Linked DNA regions of Homo sapiens: regions 2 and 3 are each linked to region 1. Evidence: promoter capture Hi-C in 16 types of primary human blood cells and fetal thymus (Javierre and others, 2016). All regions are on one chromosome and are shown on one strand. The core of a region is centred on a gene start or on the middle of the fragment in contact, and the rest is flanking DNA. Distances in the headings are between cores, read along the strand shown.

Region 1 (3,523 bases), core at 106-2,605:
AGTCCAGCCAGGACTGGAGTCGGGTCTCAGAACTCCCCAGCCATGCTCTTTCCTGTTGTCCCTCCGTGGACTGCTCTATCTGTGCCAGATGGTCAGTCCCTAGGCACCAGCAGAAAACTGTGTGGCCCACACACATTGCACACCCTGCGTAAAATTCTAGATTGTCCCCTAATGCCCTCTAGGTGTCCACCAAGGTTTGCCATGGAGAAGATCATCTAGCCCTTCCCACTTTCCACCTGGGTTCTTGAGAAGTTTTTTCTTTGAAAGTCTCAGCTCCTGAGCCTGGCGTGGATGGCCTTCATAATCTTGTCTTTTGTGTTTCCAACCTCATATCCAACTCGCCACCTCCAAGACATCCTGCACACTGACAGCTCCCTCTGCATGAATCCACCATTCTTTCTAAGCCTCCATCTCTCTGCCCAGGTCCCCCAACACACACACACACACACACACACACACACACACACACACACCCAACTCTCTAGAGTGTTCTCCTCTCAGCTCTGCTCCAGAGACTGACCTTCCTTCTACAAGGCACATCAAGTGCACAGCTTCGTGAGTCTTTCTCTAGTCACCAGAGAGAACTGCTTCATCCTCCGCACACGCCTCCACCAATGCCTTATTGTGTCCTGCAATTGCTCATTGTTTATGTGTATGTCTCACCCACTAAGCCATCTGGAGTCTTTTTACTTTATTTTTTTTTTGAGACAAGGTCCCACTGTATCACCCAGGCTGGAGTGCTGTGGTGCGATCATAACTCTGCAGAATTGAATACCTGAGCTCAAAGGATCCTCCAGCTTCAGCCTCCCAAGTAGCTGGGACTACAGGCACGGTCACCACGCCCAGCTAATTTTTGTTCATTTTATATAGAGACGAGGTCTCACCATGTTGCCCAAACTGGTCTTAAACGCCTGGACTCAAGCAATCCTCCCACCTTGGCCTCCCAAAGTGTTAGGATTATAGGTGTGAGCCATGGCCTCAAGCCTGGAGTCTTCTTTAATGGCCAGTTCTCCTCCTCTTTTTTCTTGATGTCCTCAGGCCCCGAAGCACACGATGTCAGTCCCCAGTGCACCTTTGTCGAATGACTTCACAAAGCCACCTCTCATTTCCCTGGATGTGGAAGGACAAATGCCCTCTGCCTCCTGCCCTGCCCCTGTCATACCAAGCGCCCAAGGCCCCAGCCCCACTCACCTGAGAGGCTGAGAAGGAGCAGAGCAGGGGGCAGCCACATGGCTCTGCCTTCCCGGCTCCTCGTCCGCCTGATCTGCAACCAGTGGCAAATGCAGATCCCAGATGCACTCTGGAAGTTCTGCCTGAGCTCTGGCTTGCACCTTCTGCACATCTAGACCGCCTTTGACTTTCTTACTCATTCACTTCCTTTTATAGAGTGGGTAGTTCCTGCTTTTAATTATTAAACGAAAGAGGTGTCATTTTTTGGCAGGGCTGCGCCACAGGGCTTAAGCATCGTCACTATGTAAAAAAGAGGAGGGAGGGGACTGTGCAGGGTCTTTAGGGTAGGGGGAGATACGTCTGCAGAAGGGGTGGGGTGGGGGGCGTCTGGCCTAGCAGGCCTTGGGTCCAAGGGGTATAACACTCTGGGAGTCAATTTCAGAGCTGTTCTATACCACAGTGAACACCCAACTCAGATGTCGGATGGGTCATGCTGGGCACACCTGAACATGCATTTGTTCAGGTGTTATAGCCAAGTGCATAAACATGCAGACTGTTGGGTCAGACAGACCTGGCTCTAACCCCACGAGCACCACCTACAAGCTGCGTGACTGTGGACAATGCAATCAACATCTCTGTGCCTCAGTTATTGTATCTATTAACTGGGCTCATAATGTTTGTTGTTGTTATAGGAGTTATTAAGAAATTATTTTAGGTAGATAGGAAAAGGGGTGCTTGGGAAGATTTTTTTTTCTTTTAAAGCAGCTCCATAAATGTTTCTTGTCTAGAAGAAAAGCCCTGGCTCTTAGAGCTGGGCAGGCAAGCTTTGATATGCAAATACAGGCCATTAGAAACTGCGTCCACCCAAACATGGAGACTCCCGCCTCTTCTTCTTTTCCCCACGTTCCTGGCAACATGGCCGCCCCTACATACACCCATGTGTGTAGAACATCATGGCGCCTGTATTTGCATATTAAAAGGCTAGGGTAGGAAGGCTAGTTTTTTCGTGGGCTACTTGAATGACATACCTGGTCAAACCAATCCCCTGGGCCCTATGCAAATCAGGTACCGCCTCCTCCAGCCTCCTCATATAACTGGCTGTTTTCCACCGTACTCGAGGTTCCCTCTTTCAGCTTGGAGCCCGCCTCCCTCAGTCTCAGAACAGGGGGAGCCTCTTCCTTCCTTCTTTCTTGTCTATTAAATTCTCCACTCCTTAAAACCACTCCACGTGTGCCCATGTTGTTTTATTCAAACCAGTGGGAGACCAAGGACCCTAGTGTTCCTCCAGTCATCAGAGCCATACCATTTTGTTGCATTGGCCGGGAATCCAAGGTACGACACTCATCGGAGTGGTAAGTATGGGAGTGAGCTTAAAATCTCTTCTATCATTCCGAGGCACTCTTAGCCTCTATTTTAAAATAAAATAAGTCAATGGGCATCCGTCAGCCGGGTACATACACTTAGTGTTGGCTGCCATACTGAAGACTCGAATGTGAGGCTTGCTGCTGAGAACACGGAGAACCCCCCAACACCCCTGGGTCATTGGGAATGTTGGCCATGTTTTAAATCAGCTTCTTTTCACGGGAAGACCTCGCCATTGTGCAAGGCTGGGAAAAGTTCTAAGGCAACTAACAATTTCTGGCCAGAGCACACCCTGGCATGATTCAAAGGCCCCTGGACTGGACCCAGCCTCTGGCGGCCCATTCTGGGTGTTGGCAAAGAATCCTCAACTATCTTGTCACAAAACTCTCCTTCCTTCTCTATCTGCGGTCTCTTACACTTTCTTTGTGTGAAATGTGTAGCGAGTTTTACAGCCTAGGAAAGTAATCCTGTTAGGCAAAATCAGGAAGATGCCCTTGCAATCTTCTAGGAACAGAGTTCTCCCCTTTCTCCCACCGTGAGGTTACTCACTACCACGTCTCTAGTGAGCACATAGTATTTCTAAGCCAACAGTGCCACCTAGTAGAAATAGAAATCCTCTACATAAAGCATATTTTTTCATGGCAAACCGCAGCTTCTTTTTGCATGATTAGAAATCAGGCTCGGCCAGGCGCGGTGGCTCATGCCTGTAATCCCAGCACTTTGGGAGGCCGAGGCGGGCAGATCATGAGGTCGGGAGATCGAGACCATCCTGGCTAACACAGTGAAACCCCGTCTCTACTAAAAATACAAAAAAAAATTAGCCAGGCGTGGTGGCGGGCGCCTGTAGTCCCAGCTACTCGGGAGGCTGAGGCAGGAGAATGGCGTGAACCCGGCAGGCAGAGCTTGCAGTGAGCCGAGATCGCGCCACTGCACTCCAGCCTGGGCAACAGAGCAAGACTCGGTCTCAAAAAAAAGAAAAGAAAAGAAAAGG
Region 2 (4,037 bases), core at 903-3,402, 99 kb before region 1:
AAGTGAGACGGAGTGAACACAAAAAGAGCAAACAGCTCTCAGGAAACCTCCCTACATATCCGCCGCCATCTACCATGCAGGGCTGGCAGTGGGCAGGGCTCCGCTGCTCCGTCCAGGCCTCAGATGCCCCAGCCTTTCCCCCGCCTGGGTCGGGAGGGAGTGGTAAAGAGTTGCCTTTTTGGAGAATCTAGGTAGGGAAAAGAGATTCCCAAAGCTTGAAAATAAATTGAAACAGATCTGCCAGATCCACAATTCATCTTTGGCTTCTTAAGGTCACAAGCAGTCTCGGGGACTATTTCCATTCCACCTTCCTCTAGCTCTTAGCTGGCTTTTCACATATGCTAATGAGCGGCCCCTCCCAGCACACTGTGTTCAGCACCAGTTGCCTGCTTCACGAGAACTAGTCCCAGCCCACAGTCACGGATGCCCCTCGCCTAGGTCTGACCCGCCGTTTGCCTTTCTAGCGTTGGCACTCAACTGCTTGGACCCTACAAGCGTTTGCCTCCCTGGCATGGGGGCCTCTGAATCTTAGGGTGGGAGGTGGAGCTACGGAAGGGAGCCCAGGAGTGAGCAACAGATCAGCAGCAGCACTGCGCCCCTCTTCTTAATATTGAAGAGACTTGAAACAATTCAGTCTTCGCCACCCCAGACCAGCCCGTGAGGGCAAGGCCAGGAAGGGATACAGGGTTCTAGAGAACCAGGGCCTCACCGCCAGCTCCGGCCGCTAAGCAAACATTCCCTCCAGGAGTCCGAGAAGCCGGTGTGCGAGGGGAGGAACCAGCCTGAGGTTTATCGCTCCAGCAACTCCGGGTGATTCATAGAGTTTAGACTCCCGGTTGTCGTAGACCGCGGCAGGCACGCAAACAAGCAGCCCGGGAGATACCCTCCCCTTTCCCAGCCCCCGCTCCTCCACCTTGCTACCCCCTAGCCCGTGACCAGCTGCCTCCCCTCCCCCTCGCGGGCGCTCAGGGTTGAGCAAACACTCCGGGCCGCCCGCCCCGCCACCAGCTGGCTCCGACCGGCGCACCGCTGGCGATCCCCCAGGCAATTCGGCGTCATGAGAACCGGCACCCCGAGACTCGGCGCCCTGCCCTCCCTCCGCGTCTCCAGGGCCCTGGCCAGGCCCAACAACCTCTCCCTCCTCTGTGCGCCTCAGCCCCTACGGGCCTCTGGCGCGGGCTAACTAGGCCTCGCTGCGGGCCCCCAGGACTGCGCACCCCACCCCCCGCGAGGCCAGCAGCCCCGGGGGAAGGCGGCCGGAAAATCTCTTGTTTATCGGGCTGGATAAGTACCAGCCTGGATTCGCTTCCCAATTTCTGCGGTCCAGCTTCAGCAGATTCCTGGGGCCGGAGGGGAAAGGGTGGCAACCCACAGATCCACCCCGGAACAGGGAGTGGGGGGTGGGGCTGGTGGGAACCTGACCTCCTGGAAAGGACGGACTCGGAGTCAGAGCCAACGTGTCCCGGAGCGCAGAGGCCCAGGGGGTCGCGCTAAACACTGTACCTCGGGGAACAAAACCGTGAAGGCTAATTAGGACAAGTCGGAGCAGGGAACGGGGACGCCGGGAGGGGAGAGCGCGCTCCGAGTTGGGCAGAACCTGGAACGGTCACAGGAAACCCGGGCGCGGGGTAGTCGGGCCGAGGGGGACCTTTGCCCACGGTCCAGAGTGGTCTGGACTCGGCCCACGCGTGAGAGGAGCGCTTGGTGACGATCCCACGTACGCTTGGTGACTGGTGGAGGTCCCAGAGAAGGACCGTGCGTGCAAAAGGCGAACCTCGGTGTGCGGTGTGTCCACGTGTGCAAGCTGGGGAGGGGAGGGGGCGCAGAAGGCGTGACAAAGACGGACTCTGTCTTGAGTGTGCGCCTCGCTCCGGCCCGCTCCCAGCGAACTGTGCCTGAAGTGTGTCTCACGGGAGGGCCAGGACGAAGGTGACAAAGGCTAGGTGTCCCCCACGGAGACGCGCCAAGGTAGCCCCGCGCGTGTCCGTAGGCGCGCTCTCTGGAAGACGCGGTGGGGGGTGCGCAGGGCTGCACCCTCACACCAATTGCCCCGGCGAAGGCCGAGCCCAGAAAGTGAGTGCGCGTGAGTGTGCGCGCGCCCGCATGCGGGGGCGTGGCAGTCAACAGCAACAACCCACACGCCGGCAGGGCCAGAAACTCCCATCTCCCTCACCAGCCGGAAAGTACGAGTCGGCTCAGCCTGGAGGTGAGTCGGGGCGGGGAGGGCCGGGCAGGCTTTGTTCCTGTGTAAACGGAGCGCACGTACCTGGAGCGCGGCGGGCGCCCGATTAGCGCCCTGAATGGAGGTGATGTAACGGTGATGCAGGCTCCAGCCCACCCTCGCCGAAAGCAAGGAGCCCTGCCTGGGGACAGGCCCGCGCGAGAGCGAGCAACCCAGCGCGCCTGGCTCAGCCTCGGTCCCAGGGAGAGGCAGGCCCTGCGTCCCGGCCCGGGCCCCGCCATCCCAGCCAGGACCGGGCCTGGCCCAGCGCCCCGCGCCGCGTCCCTCCCACCCCCGCCCGCCCCCCGCCTGGGGCTGGAGTTGGCCCCAAACGCTGCGCTGGAGCGGGGCCGGCGGCGAGTCCCAGGTAAGGGCTGCTGCCTTCCCGCTCCGCCGCCCGGAAGAGTCGGGTCGGGACGGCGGGGAGTGGGCGAGGGCAGAGGCGGGGGGACTGGACATCCTGCGGGCTGGGGACGCCGCGCCAACTCCGCTCGGTCGCTGAAAGTTTTCAAACCCGAGCCGGCTGGGGACTGGGGGGGTGGGGGAGCCCGGCGCTGCGGCTCGGGCTGGAGGGAGGGGAAACCACTCCATAATCGGGGTCTCCAAGAGGAGCCCCTCCACCGCCTGCCTCTCGGTGGGAGTCCGCGGTCACTCTCTCTCGTGGGTGGCGTCCTCTCTGCCGCCTGCTACTGTGGATGTGGAGGGCAGGTTTCTGTGGCCCTAAAAATGGGAGAGAGTGACTGGTTCCCTTGCTCCCCATTCCAGCCACCCAGGGAGCGCAGGTGTAGACCCCAGTACCGTCGACCCAAGTAGGGACGAGAGGGTTCAGAATCCCCCTGAGGGAAGTTTGGAAATTCAGACTATCAAAGCGCCTCCCCTTCTGGTAGCCTGGCCCCTAGATCCCGAACCCCCACTCCCGGCTGGCTTTTCCAGCGTCCTTTGCACCTCCATCCCCAGGCCCGCAGTGTTACACGCTGGAAGACCCAATCACTTACAAACTCCACGATCAAGATCCTAAAGCCCGGGAGAGGAGACTGTTGGAAGTAGGGTTTTGTGCTCCTGGAGCTTCCTCTCCCCGCCGGCCCCCCACCCCTGTGCCTTCAACTGGACTGGGGGAGGGAGTGCATTGGGGGGTGGGGCGCATTCCAGAGTGACATTCCAGAGCAGACCCTTGAAGATTTCCAAGTCTCAGAGAGCTCAGGGCATTTTGGCCCAAATGCCTGGTCTTGGTGCGGGGCAGGGGCAGGGGGATAGGGGTGGGGTGTCTAGGCTGAGGTTCGAGGAACCCCAACCCACCCCCCACCAACCTACACACTGAGGCCGCTCCTTCCAGGCACAGGCGTCTCCTGTGCGCCTTCTTATCGATGGGGTAAACGCCTGAGCGCCCTGCACAGAGGGGTGAGACAGTGGGACCTAACCAGGGACTGGGAGAGACCGATAGGAGTGGAGGCAGGAAGGCTGTCAGTCGGGCCATCGTCTTTCCCTATAGGCTCTTGAGTGTGTGGGATGGGAGGAAGGCAAGTGCTCTGTGGTATCCCTGGGGGAACCTCCCTGAAGAGTGCCCTGGTCACAGCACCCTTGAAGACAGCCATTGGCCATGGGTCAGTGTTGAGTTTGGTTGGCCCTGTGACGCGCTGGAGCTCTCTTTCCAGTGCGGTATCCTTGGCCCTGGTGGGTGGAGGGGGTCTCAGGCTTGTGTGTGGATGATGCTGGAGCGAGGAAGGGAGTTTTGCTCTGGAGAAGTGAGAAGGCCTGGCTGTCTCCCCGGTTGCTGGATGAAGCCACTTGTTGCTGGGGGAAACCAGTCAGGGCTGCT
Region 3 (3,579 bases), core at 104-2,603, 110 kb after region 1:
GGAGCTGAGGTCACAGATACACTTGAGATTGTAACAAAAGCTATACACCCATGCCCTAGGAAAACACACACATACACTGAGTTTCGCATATCCTATTAAAAGAATCTCCAGAGTCTTTCTATGTATTCCTAGCTAGGACCCCCCACCCTGGCAGGGCGCGGTGGCTCACACCTGTAATCCCAGCACTTTGGGAGGCCAAGGCGGGTGGATCACATGAGGCCAAGAGTTGGAGACCAGCCTGGTCAACATGGTGAAACCCTGTCTCTACTAAAAATACAAAAGTTAGCTGGGCATTGGTGGTGGGTACCTGTAATCCCAGCTACTTGGGAGGCTGAGGCAGGAGAATCCCTTGAACCCGAGAGGAGGAAGTTGCAGTGAGCCAAGATCGTGCCATTGCACTCCAGCCTGGGTGACAAGAGCAAAACTCCAACTCAAAAAAAAGAAAAAGAAAAAAGAAACAGATGAGAGAGATATGACTCTGATGCTAGAACAGAGGAGGAGCCTGCAGAAGGTGTGCAAGCACACATGTGCGCACGTGCACACACATACCAGCTGTCAGACACAGTCTGTGCTCTTTGGGAAGGAGGGTGGGGGTTACAGGACACTCCCATGTGACAAAACAGCAATCATCCCATGTCCCCTGGGTGCATAAAAACATCTCTCTTTGCACACCAGCACACAGCCACATCTTCCTTGCTGGGGTTCTTTGTGACCACTGTGAAAAAGCATTTGCCAGGGCTGTCTTGATGGTACACGGCGCTCCTCTCCTGACCTCAGGTGGTCCACCCACCTCAGCCTCCCAAAGCTCTGGGATTACAGGCGTGAGCCACCGCACCTGACCCAGACCCTGCATTCCTTTCCCCACTGGGCTTCTCTAATGTTCAGAACAACTCAAATCCATTTGTGCATTCTGCTGCCGCATATGGAGGCCCTGCTAAGTGTGAGTCCTACTTTGTGTTTGCAGCTGCAGACCTCATGCTGAGCAAGACTTCGCCTGGCCCTGGAGGGGCTCCCCACTACACCCTGGGTTGCCTCTGTGCCCTCTGGACTACCAGGCCTGGCTTAGTCGCTTTCCTTGGGCCTCTGTTTGTTATCAGCAGAGCCCACCCATCTGAGGCTGGAGCCTGAAACTCTAGTCATCCCTCTGATTCCCTCATCCTCTCCCCAGTGCACCCCAGCCCCACCCACCTCCCCTTCCCCAGCCACTAGGCCTGCTGTTCCTCATGCTCCCACCAGCCTCCCCCACCCCACTCCCCGGACCCAGGATGTCCAGGAGGGGCAGATGTGTCACTGTGTCTCTTTGCTCTCTCTGCCTCATCTGCCAACATTTGGGGAGCTTCTGTCAGCTGGACTGAAACTGGCTTTCATGTTTCTTACTACTCCCTTGCGTCTCTCTTTTCTACACCTCAGTTTTGTTGTTTTCCCATTGCATCAATGTTTATACGTAGAGCTGTTCAGAAAAAGCAGAAGCTGGAGACAGGAAAACTACTAATCACAACAGAAACTTTGTGGCTTTAATTCTCATAATAATTAGCATCACAGGGCACCCACCCAGTTTCTCAAGAGCCTACAACTTCCAAAAACAGACAAGTTAAGTCACATTTTTATGTATCATTGTGTCTTCAAATATACTAATCCAGCAGATTTATCTGACATCAAAACAGGGAGTTGGATGTTCAGAGGGCAAATCTTACCCAAAAATTGCTGACACAGCCCCTAACATGTTACATTATTATTAATTGGACAGTCACTTAATGAGCGTCTACTAAGTAAAGGCGCTGTGTATACAAAGAAGAAGGAGAGATCATGATTCTGTCAGGATCCTGGGAGTGGGCCAATGGCAGGCTCAGTTGGTATAACAGAATAATCTAATGCAGGGGAAATTTACAAAGAGAAGGAAAGAGTTAAGTGAAATCAACAAGAGATGGAGAAAAAACAGGACTAGCAACAGCAGTAGGGCCACGACACCTCTAACACAGGGAGAGGTGTCAGAAATAACCAGAACCCACAGGAACTGTAGGACAGGACCATGCCACAGGGGCTGTGACCTCAAAGTAGGAAAACGGACACTCCAGCCCAGCAGGGTGGCACCTGGGCAGGAGAAACTCTCACCTTCCTTTCTCCTGCTGGCACCACCCATTGCCATTCCTTGGAAAGAAAATAAATCTTGGGACCCCAAACTCACTAAGCCAAAGGAAAAAGTCAAGCAGGGAACTGGGTCATGCAAACCTACCTCCCATGTTGGTTCCTAAATGAGATGGTGACAAGGATGACAGGCTACCAACCTCCCTCACATTGTGGTCTTTAAAGCGTTTCTGTTAAATTTCCCCATGCCAATGTAAACTGATAGCTTATCTTCACAGGTGCGAGACACAGGACAGAACTCAAAGTCATTCCTCTGCCCACCTGAGACAAACGCATATCTGACTGTTTCCTCTGCCCTGTTGTTTACGTTATCTTAGGTAAAAATGCAGATTCACTGAGCCAGACAAAGGCCTGAATGGCTATTTTCCCCACCTCCCCTCTCACAAGAAAATTGTGTATTTCTCAATATCCCACCCTTTCCCTTTTAAATATTGAAGCCCCCAAAATCATCTTCAGAGAAAGGTATAGACCTGTCTCCCAGGCGCGTTTCCTTAACTTTGGCAAATAAACTTCCTAAAATGATTGAGACTTGCCTCAGTCATTTTCCTCCATTGACAACCTGAGCCCAACCAGAAGCCAGAGTGAGGTTATCTATGTTCCCCTCTCCAATAAGAATAGAAACCCCCACTCCAGAGCAGGTGCGGTGTCTGACTCATCTTCATATCCCAGCAGTAAGTACAGTGACCAGCTCACCGCGGGTGCTCAGTAAATGCATGCTGTGTGAAGAGATGAATGAGTGAATGTCCGTCCACTCAGCAACCTTGCAGCCAGGTGTGGTTGCTCATGTCTGTAATCCTAACATTTTGGGAGGCCAAGGCGAGTGGATCACTTGAGACCAGGAGTTTGAGACCAACCTGGCCAATATGGTGAAACCCTGTCTCTACTAAAAACCCAAAAATTAGCCAGGTGTGGTGGTGCGTGCCTGTAATCCCAGCTACTCAGGAGGCTTGAACCCAGGAGATGGAGGTTGCAGTGAGCCAAGATTGCGCCACTCTACTCCAACCTGGGTGACAGAGCAAGACTCTGTCTCCAAAAAAAAAGAAAAAGAAAGAAGAAAGAAAGAAAGAAAGAAAGAAAGAAAGAAAGAAAGAAAGAAAGAAGAAAGAAAGAAAGAAAGAAGAAAGAAAGAAAGAAAGATTCTTACAAACTATAAGATACTAAATTATCTAAAATTATTTCAAAATAAAGAAGGAGGTTTTGATGCTATATGCAGGTAAGAAAGGTTGGAATTAATCTCTGGAATAACACACATGATTTTCTCAATTCCTGTACTAAGCACATATGCATGGCTCCAGAAATAAGCAGAAAGTCTTTGCCATTTCAACTGTCCCCCACATACTTACTATGTTAACCCACTTCTCCATCAACACTTCTGCCCCAGGCAACTAGAAGAGAGAGAAGGAAGGTGGTGAAAAGCAGCTTCATGGTTCTGCC

The links. The method cuts DNA at HindIII sites, captures the fragments that hold promoters and counts their contacts. A CHiCAGO score of 5 or more calls a contact.
Region 2: the fragment with the promoter of GPRC5C here is called in contact with the fragment with the promoter of CD300LB in region 1 in 4 of 17 cell types (monocytes, M2 macrophages, neutrophils and 1 more); the score reaches 5.7 in monocytes.
Region 3: a fragment that was not itself captured here is called in contact with the fragment with the promoter of CD300LB in region 1 in 1 of 17 cell types (monocytes); the score reaches 8.9 in monocytes.

What each region holds. Positions count from the first base shown.
Region 1 is chr17:74,530,120-74,533,642 of GRCh38, forward strand. CD300LB (CD300 molecule like family member b) reads right to left here and starts at 1,356. Exons shown (of 4, transcript NM_174892.4): 1 at 1,192-1,356. The coding sequence starts at 1,231. LOC107985074 (a long non-coding RNA gene) reads left to right here. Exons shown (of 3, transcript XR_007065902.1): 2 at 2,428-2,522. The HindIII fragment of the contact is 3,995 bases long and covers 1-1,992 here.
Region 2 is chr17:74,429,936-74,433,972 of GRCh38, forward strand. GPRC5C (G protein-coupled receptor class C group 5 member C) reads left to right here and starts at 2,153. Exons shown (of 4, transcript NM_022036.4): 1 at 2,153-2,206. RefSeq lists a silencer at 1,026-1,165. The HindIII fragment of the contact is 4,765 bases long and covers 213-4,037 here.
Region 3 is chr17:74,640,390-74,643,968 of GRCh38, forward strand. No RefSeq gene overlaps it. Among named protein-coding and RNA genes, the nearest start is that of CD300E, 18 kb to the left of the region's middle. The HindIII fragment of the contact is 7,428 bases long and covers 1-3,579 here.